Linked DNA regions of Homo sapiens: region 2 is linked to region 1. The links are contacts of gene promoters, found by promoter capture Hi-C in human tissues and cell types (Jung and others, 2019). All regions are on one chromosome and are shown on one strand. The core of a region is centred on a gene start or on the middle of the fragment in contact, and the rest is flanking DNA. Distances in the headings are between cores, read along the strand shown. Region 1 holds the start of KIAA0319L (KIAA0319 like). Region 2 holds the start of AGO4 (argonaute RISC component 4).

Region 1 (4,718 bases), core at 2,040-4,539:
TCTTAAAACGGTTGTGCCAATTCTCCCTTATGAAAAAGAATCCAATTTAAACTCTGGTTCCAAAACAAAACAAATAAATAAACCCAACAGACCTCAGTCACCAAAAGGATGACCATTTCTGTCAATTAGCAGATTGTTTTTTCTGCCTCCTAATAGTCCTTAAAATGAACTGAGGGACTCACATAAAATGCCCTTTTCTAAAAAAAAAAATCTTAAATCTATAAAGAAAATAGTACCTGTTGACAACCACAGAACGCTGAAGCAAAAGCAAGTATAAAACAGGTACAGGCTTCTCAACCACTTCGCAGATGTCTGCCAATAATATCCTGATAAAATCCAGGAAGCAGGATTTGGCTTGACTCCCAGCCTCTTCTCCATGGCCCTCCAGACAGGCAGAACCAGTACACTAGAAGGACAGAAAGAGAAGAAATTACATGCCGAGTAATTAATAATTAATTCCTGGAAATGTGGAATGCTAGAAAATATGACAGATTAGGGGAAAGAAAAATTTCAAGTTTGTCTTTAACGGCTCAACCCTGCCTATAAATTTTAAACCTGGGCTTTGAGGTAGCCTATAATTATCAGAATAACAACACAGCAAGGGATATCAAATGAATCCACTGAAAACTGAAACTTTATATTCCTTTTTTTTTTTTTAATCTAACAGTAAATCACCTATGTGGTAGAATGGAAAGAGTACCAGCCCGCAGACAAGAAGATCTCTGAGTTTTAGTTGCAGTTCTGCTACTAACAGCTTTGTGACTTTGACCAAACACACTTTCTTACTTTTGAGGAGAAGAGGTTGCACCCTCAGAGGTAAAGTAACCTGAGGGTTATGTCTGGCCCAGTATTTTTTAAATTTCTGAATGCAAATGTCTTTAGGCAGGGCATGCACTCTCCAGTCTGCTACTGTCTCCGCCCACCACTATTATCATGAAAATCTATTCAATTTACACCTCAATGCTACCCACCCCAATCCCTGCATTCAACAGATACTTACGTCAGGCACTATGCTGGCTACTCCAGAATCTAGGGGCTGGATTATTTAGGTCTCTTCCAGCAGAAAAACTCATTTACCATAAATTTCTCCCCTCATATAAAACTTTGCTATATTGTCTAAATTAGTACGTAAATATTGGCAACATTATGAGGGTTGACTGAGTTCTGAAGAAGCAATTCAAAAACTTCTGTCCAACTATGTACCTGTCATCTACATCCAGCAAACGACACAGGCTGCCAACCCCTAACTCCTATCCACGGCCAGCATACAGGGAGATCAGCATTGCCTGGGCTGGATACCAATACTGACTAATACCAAGAAACAGCCACAGACATACACACAGCTGCAAAACTAAGGTGCAGCCCACCCAAGAAAAGGCTTTTGCAGAACCACATGCATCTGAAGGACTTCATCGTTCTCATTCACTTCCATCCATTCCTATTTCTAGTTGTTTTGTAGTTGTATTTCAGGGAGCAGGGGGCAGAAAGGAGGTGTGTGGGCCAGAGACATGTTCAAGAGATTATGAAATGGAGCCTAAGTTAGAAAGTACATCCAGCAATTTCTCTAGCCTCCCAAGAGGGAACGAGTGAGTATGCATGTGTGCATGTATGGGTGTGTATGAATCTTACCCAACACATTTCTGCCTACCACAAAAGGATTTAAAACTCAAGGTGACTCAACAGCTGTCATCAATAGCCTGACAGGTGGGTGGGAGAAGCAGAAAAGAAATGAATAGCTTTTGAAAAATGGAGTAATAAACACCACTGGACTAACAAGCTGATTAGAAGTGCCATGTCTAATAAATCTTGCGTCTAAGAGAAAGGCAGAGTTAATTTCATTTGAACTCCTAACCAGTCATTCCTCTGAAACCTATAATTGCCTAAGGGCACAAATCACTGCTAGGGTCCAGTTAAAGGCTTGCTGACCAAACGCAAGAACAACAACACATCACCAAGATCCGAATAGTTTGTTACTGAATCAAAGGGTAACAACCCAGGGAGAGAACACACACCCCCACAATACTTGACAAATGAAAATCTAGAGAAGCTCACAATAGTTCTGGCATTTAGGGCGTTACAAGTACACCCAAAATAAAAGCACTCTCTGTTGCAGCAGCTGTTCAGACAGAGCAGGGGGTAATGTTTACTTAATACTTCAGGTTGATGGGGGATGTATCACAGTTCAGTCTGTCAACTACATACGTGGAACTCCATTTATGTACACAGCGATAAGATATGTTTGAACAACGATGGAGCACGTCTGAAACAATCTATTCAGTTGGTATGAGTAATCGAGAATAAAGCTCTTTTTTAAAAAGTCTCAGATATTTGGGAAAGTTACAGAACAGACTGCCATGAATAGCTTTGCTTATATTTGCAGACACTGTTTTCCAAATAGCTGGAAAAATGAACAGATTGTTCTGGGAGGTCGTCTTTCCAATTTGTTCCTAGTTTTCAGTCTGTTAATCACAGGAGAGAGCACAAGGAGAGTCAGCTAATGCTCTTCACTAACTGCAACTACTGTCAGTTGGACACAACCACTATGAGACCAGAAGCCAAAGAGTTCCTGGAATCCCGCCAGAGGTTATCAATTTTGACTTCCTTCATTTCACCTTTGTGCTCACTGCAGCCACTACAGGACCCTCTGTGGGGCATAATTTTCAAAATCGTGGATGAGGCAGGTTTCACATTATAATGGACACATCGTGCTCAACCCCATCCCCTCTTCATTCTGCACCAACTTTCTATCTCGGTGGAGAGACCAAACATCAGAGACAGCAACTAAAGACTAGGCTGCAGAGGTCGAAGGTGGAAGAAGGACGGCAGCGCCCCGAACCCCGGCTGTCTGCCTGGCTCTCAGGGGATGGAGGGAGCTGCATGACTAGGCCCAGGCCCGAGAGAAGCGGGGTTCAGCCTGGGACCCAAGCTGCGCACCTGCAAGGACAGAAGCAGCTGGCTGCCCTGGCCGAGCCAGGGGCGCCACCTCCGGACCCAACATCCGGCCAGCGCAGCCGCTGACATCGCCCGTCCCGCTTGCCCCTCCCCTGAGCCCATGGTCCTCGGCCTGGCAGCCAGCCGCCCCCGGCCACCTACCGGGGCTCAGGGCCACATAGCGGGGCCCCGGCTCTCGGCGGCCTCCGCCTCCTCCTGGTCCATGGGCTCGGGGACCCCCAACCTTCGCTCCCCTCACCCGGAGGAGGAGGAGGAAGAGGAAGAAGGTAGTGCGGGCTCCCCACCCGGACAGCTACCTCTCGCCTCAGCCTCCCTGGACAGCGACGGCGGCCGGAAACACCGCCTCCTCCCACCTCCCCGGGACCGACCCGGAAACACACTCTCCATGCTAACCAAGCCCTCCCGCCCCTCCCCCGGGAAGGGCAATGCCGGCCGCGAGACCAAGGGGGAGGAGGGGCAGTGCTGGGCGGGTAAAACTACGCACAAGCGAAGGAATCTGGGCCCCCAGCCTCTCGCCGCCCGCTCTCCAGAGGCAGTCTGCACCTTGCCTCCTTCGCTCGAGCCCCAGCCCCCAGACTCGGGCAATACCCACAAGCAAGATGGCGGCAACGGCGGCACCCCCTACTGCTTAGCACCCTGACTTGCCATTGGCCAGAGCCCGGAGTGAAGCAGCCGCGGATTCGTCAAGAGCGGTGCGGGGGTGGGGGTGGAGCTGCAGCAGCCTGGAGCCAGGAGTGGGCAACGCGGCGTGAGCAGCGGCCCGAGGCTCCCGGAGCATCGCGCTGGGAGAAGACTTCGCCGCTCGGGGCCGCAGCCTGGTGAGCTCAGCCCCCTTCGGGCCCTCCCCTGCATCCCAGCCGGGGCCTCTCCGAGCCGGCGCTGATCGATGCCGACACACCCCGGGGACCCTATCGCGACTCCATCGCGCCATATCGCGACACCATCGTGCCCTGTCGAGACTCCATTTTGTCACAGCCCTTTTCAATATATATCTTTTTTTTTTTTAATTTGCCCTGTCATCTTTGGGGGCTGTCTCCCATGTCGTGATTTTGACGTGATCTCTCCGTGACATCACCGCGCCATCGTGAAGTGTGATCTCATCGCCGCCCTGTCGTGACTTCATCAATGTCGTGTTGTGACCTGGCTGCGGCGGGACAGGTGGTGACCGCCAGGAACCCTCCTCCCCTTCTCATCTCCCCATCTCAGCAGCCCTGCTTCGATTATCCGGCTTTTGGATTCTCCGTTGTCCTGGGAACTATCCGGGACCCCCTCTTGCTTCTCCAGCCCCTGCCGGCATCCACAGGCTGGTAGCGGGACGGGGAGGGCGAGAAGAGGGAGCGCAAGGGGTTAATTCTGCTGCTGCCGCCGCCGCTGCTGCTGCTGCTGCAGCCTCTACCCGAGGGAGGGAAAGGAGAGGAGGCAAGGAGCCTGCGGGGGCGACTGAGAGCCCTGGCTGGAGGGGTGGGGTCCCCAAAGGGGCCTCCAAGCCTTCCCTGTTGAGCGTCTTGTATTCTCACTTCTGAAGCGTATCTCTGCCTCTGAAGAAGGGAGGGGAAAGGAAGCCTGGGGTGTCCTTTTCTCCCATGTCAGCCTGAGTCCGGATAATCGAACTTCACCCATGTATGTCTCCATTTCTCCCTGTCTGTCCTCACCACTCACTCCCTCTGTGTCCCTGTGGAGGGAGATAAAACCCAGCCTCCGGTGCCAGGGGGACAGCTGAGCAGTGGGGCCAGCTCCCGCCCACCCCCAGGAGACTGGTGAGGAGA
Region 2 (4,499 bases), core at 1,234-3,733, 250 kb after region 1:
TTCCAGTTACTATCTGGTTTAACAGAGAGGTAGCATGATGCTGTGAAAAGAATATAGAGTATGGTGGCCGGGCATGGTGGCTCACGCCTGTAATCCCAGCAGTTTGGAAGGCCGAGGCGGGCGGATCACGAGGTCAGGAGATCGAGACCATCCTGGCTAATATGGTGAAACCCCGTCTCTACTACAAATACAAAAAATTAGCCGGGCGTGGTGGCGGGCACCTGTAGTCCCAGCTACTCGGAAGGCTGAGGCAGGAAAATGATGTGAACCCGGGAGGCGGAGCTTGCAGTGAGCCGAGATCGCGCTGCTGCACCCAAGCCTGGGCGACAGAGCGAGACTCCGGGTCAAAAAAAATAAAAGAATATAGGGTATGGTATCAGTAGACAAGAATGTAGGCACTAGATTAAAAGTCCCAGTTCCGGCCGGGCGCGGTGGCTCAAGCTCGTAATCCCAGCACTTTGGGAGGCTGAGGCGGGCGGATCACAAGGTCAGGAGATCGAGACCATTTTGGCTAACACGGTGAAACCCCGTCTCTACTAAAAATACAAAAAAAAATTTAGCCGGGCGTGGTAGCGGGCGCCTGTAGTCCCAGCTACTTGGGAGGCTGAGGCAGGAGAATGGCGTGAACCCGGGAGGCGGAGCTTGCAGTGAGCCGAGATGGCGCCACTGCACTCCAGCCTGGGCGACAGAGCGAGACTCCGTCTCAAAAAATAAAAAATAAAAAAATAAAAGTCCTAGTTCCATAGCCAATCAGGGAGAGAATTAGCCAGGACTTAAATGCAAGATTTGAACTCCAATTTTTCCCATGCTTCACTTCAGCATCATGTAATGCAAAGCCCGACTTACTTAACTTCCCTGAGCTTCGGTGTCATCATCTGTACAAATACCTTTCTTAACAATATCTACCTTACTGGTGGTTGTAAAGATTGAGTGACAATGAGAAGCCCATAGCAGAGTGCATGGCCAGGATGTGATGCTAATATTTTTTATCATTACATAAAAAAACTACCTGGCTCTGTGACAGCACATGGCAGGTGCTCAAATGAATATCCCACCACACATGCTAGGGGCCTAAATTATCCCCCACCCCAATAATTTGTATATTGAAGTCCTAACTCTAGCACCCCAGGATGTGACTGTAATTGGAAACAGGGTCTCTGAAGAGGTAATTAAATTAAAACGAGGTCACTAGAGTGAGCCCTACTCTAATAGGACTGCTGTCCTTATAAGAAGAGGAAATTTGGACACAGACGTGCACAGAGGGAAGACCACGTGAAGTCACTGGGAGAAGGCCACTATCTACCAAGTGAAGGAGATAGGCCTCAGAAGGAACCAACCCTGCCTACATCGTATCTCTGACTGCCAGCCTCCAGAATTGTGAGAAAATAAATTTCTGTTGTTTAAGCCACCCAGTCTGTGGTACTTTGTTACGTTATGCCGTAGCAAAGGAATACAACACACACACACAAACTCATCGTACCTTTTCAATTGGTGGACAAGGGGCTCCTTCCTTCTGCTGACTAGAAACTGCTTCTTGGCCTGTTGTCCAGTGTTCTCCCACTCAAAGTCCTTACTGAAAGCCCTAAAGATGCTGTGCCTGCTGGGCTGACCATGCTGCCTTGGAGGTGGTGCTGCTCCCTTGGCTTTTGTCTGCTAAGGGGAAGGCATCCAAGAAAGCAAGACCTTTCTCTCTCTCTCTCTCTTTTATTTTTATTTTTTTTTTTTCAGACAGTCTTGCTCTGTCGCCCAGGCTGGAGTGCAGTGGCCCGATTTCGGCTCACTGAAACCTCTGCCTCCCGGGTTCAAGCGATTCTCCTGCCTCAGCCTCCCAAGTAGCTGGGATTACAGGCGCCTGCCTCCACGCCCGGCTAATTTTTTGTGTTTTTAGTAGAGATGGGCTTCCGCCATGTTGGCCAGGATGGTCTCAAACTCCTGACCCCAGGTGATCCACCCGCCTCCGCCTCCCAAAGTGCTGGTATTACAGGCGTGAGCCACCACGCCCGGCCAAGACCTTTCTCTTCTAAAGTGACTGGTGATTTGCTGACCAGAGGCGCTTGTCATGGGACCAGGGAGGGAATGCATCATTCATCAGGGTCCATTCCCGTGGTGCCTTCCGGCTATACGGAGAGGGACGCGCAGTTGGGTGTGTGGTGCTGAATGAAGGGATGAAGGAGGACTGCTAGCGTCTAAGGTGACCCTAAAAGACGAGATGACAGAAGCGATCTGGGGTGGGAGGAGGGAGGAGGGAGGCGAGGTGGCTCCTGTGAATCTCAGTACACTTTCCACTCACAGAAGTGGAAAACTGAATCTGTGGGTCAGCGGAACTGGAATCCAGATCTTTTGCAGGACGCCCTGGGGGGATGGCACGTAGCCCCCAGAGCCGTTGGCCACCGGACGGCCTCCTCGGGTGGACGGGGCAGAGCGGGCCAGCGGGCGCGTGCCCGACACGTCCACCGGGCTCTGCACCCTCCGGGCGCGCGCTCGTTCCCCGACCCGCCTCGCCGCCTGCCGGGCTCTGTGGACCCCGCGCCCGGGGCCGCGCACGCCCCCTCCGCCCGCCGGGACCCTGGGTCCGCGCACCCCGCGCCCCCTTCCCTCCCGGCGGGCGCGCGCGCTGGCTCCCGCTCCCGCTCCCGTTGGCGGCGGCGGCGGCGGCGGCGGCGGGGATTGTTTTTGTTGTCGCTGAGGCCGGAAGAGCCGGAGCCGGGTCCCTGTCCCCGGGCCGGGCGCCGCCGCCGCCCCCTGCCCAGCGCCCGCGTCTCCGCGGCGCCACCCCAGCGCCAATATTCCGGAGATCAAGCGTTACGCGGCGGCGGCGGCGGCGGCGGCGGGGCCCGGAGCGGGAGGCGCCGGGGACCGGGGCGAGGCGGCCCCCGCCGCCGCCATGGAGGCGCTGGGACCCGGTGAGGAGCGAGCTCGGGTCGGGGCGGGACCCGGGACCCGGGACCCGGGGCGGGCGGCCGGGACTTTCGCTGCCCCGTCGCCTCGCCGGGTTCGGGCCGCCAGGCCTCGGGGAAGGGGACCCGAGCCCCGCAGCACGAAGCGGAGGGAGCTGACCCGGGCCTGGGGGGCGGTGACCGCGCCCCAGCCGGCCGTTGGGTGGATCCCGAGGTCCAGGGGGGAGGTTCGGGAAGGTGACCGGCGCTGCCGGGCGGAGGCCACTCTTGGCCCCACCTCGGGGAGACGATATGTGCCCGGGGTCGCGACGAGGGTAGTTTGGGCCTCAGAAGGGGGCGATCCGCTACCCAGTGCGCGCGGAGGCCTGGCCCAGACCGGGAAAAGGGCCCCGCTGCCTACTACCAGCCGGTAGTCCTGGTTTGGGGCCGCGCCCCTATTTTTCTTTGCACTGGCAGATGGTCCAGAGCCTTCAGATGAGGAAGAAGAACTTCATCCAAACACCTCTCATGATCTCTGAAGGTCAAGGGACAAAATGCCCACCCTTTCTGAAAGGCCCTGATGTCCCAAAGAACATGGTCCTGTGCCTCTGTCACTCAGTCTGTGTGTTAGTCTCAGAGTGGTCTGAGCCAGCCTTTGAGTGACACAGGAGTTGCCAGTCAGTCTGCTCCACCACAGGCTTCAATGCCCTGAGTTCTCTTCTAATTGGGTTATGAGTGGTTGTGAGGATCAAATGAAGGAGAAAGTGCTTTGGAAACTAATTTGTTGTGGATATGGATGGCCTCTGGTTATTTCTCTCTATCCAAACCAGAAGAACCATTCCAGGCTGTAACAAGTGTCCTGAGTATTGGGGCCTGGTGCTTCCACCTCAAAGCCCAACAGGTTTCTAATGCCTTGGCTAAGTAGCTCAGTGTTTAGGGGCTGTGGTGGAATTCACTTTAATATTCAAACTTTACCTACATAATGAACTTAGTCGTAGAGTGTTTCATCTTTTTAGTGCGTAGAAAATTCGAGTTGCCATTTGAGTTTGGAAACTTGGCACGTTTGTTTACTTAGCACTTGTTTGCATAGCTGAGTGATTAAGCCCCACCCTAATTTGCTTCTTAAAGTATTGTTTAAAGGCCCTCATAATCAAATTTCATATGCCTTTTAAAAATAAATTGGCTTGCCGCATTAATATTGTTTGATAAACTTCAGTGTATTATGCCAGGTTAACTTCAGATATGTCCCCTGGCTAAAGACATGCTCAGGTCTTTAGGAATGTAACAGATTCAATCTAGTAATGTAATAGTTGTATGACCCTGGGAAAATTACTCAATTCCTTTGAACTTTCATTTTCTCGTCTATAAATTGAGGGTAATAATAAGTATGTTCTGTAAGATTGTTGAGAGAATGAAATGAGAGTATATGATAAGTCTTATTGTAGAGACTAGTGCCTATAGATGCTCAACAGATGTTTCTTCCCTCCCCCTAGTAATTCATAATTGAAACAACTGTTGCATTTATGATCTGATATCGAAAGAAATTGTGTAACTGTGGGCATAAACTGAATTTCATGGAAAGGATCAACCTGGTGATATTAGGCACTGCCCAGGGACTCTTTT

Evidence for each region. Contacts are between HindIII fragments. The study calls those that stand out against the background at their distance.
Region 2: the fragment with the promoter of AGO4 here is called in contact with the fragment with the promoter of KIAA0319L in region 1 in 2 of the 25 tissues and cell types used here (adrenal gland and mesenchymal stem cells).

What each region holds. Positions count from the first base shown.
Region 1 is chr1:35,554,114-35,558,831 of GRCh38, forward strand. KIAA0319L (KIAA0319 like) reads right to left here and starts at 3,290. Exons shown (of 21, transcript NM_024874.5): 1 at 3,094-3,290; 2 at 237-406. The coding sequence starts at 378. NCDN (neurochondrin) reads left to right here and starts at 3,686. Exons shown (of 7, transcript NM_014284.3): 1 at 3,686-4,110. The coding sequence starts at 4,078. RefSeq lists enhancers at 7-963, 964-1,919, 2,720-3,447, 3,448-4,174, 3,464-3,523 and silencers at 2,984-3,083, 3,094-3,233, 4,305-4,514. The HindIII fragment of the contact is 15,948 bases long and covers 1-4,718 here.
Region 2 is chr1:35,805,533-35,810,031 of GRCh38, forward strand. It overlaps AGO4 (argonaute RISC component 4), which reads left to right and starts at 2,484. Exons shown (of 18, transcript NM_017629.4): 1 at 2,484-2,903. The coding sequence starts at 2,885. CLSPN-DT (CLSPN divergent transcript) reads left to right here. Exons shown (of 3, transcript NR_199050.1): 3 at 1,213-1,408. RefSeq lists enhancers at 1,658-2,157, 3,257-3,536 and silencers at 2,367-2,576, 2,857-3,106. The HindIII fragment of the contact is 21,017 bases long and covers 1-4,499 here.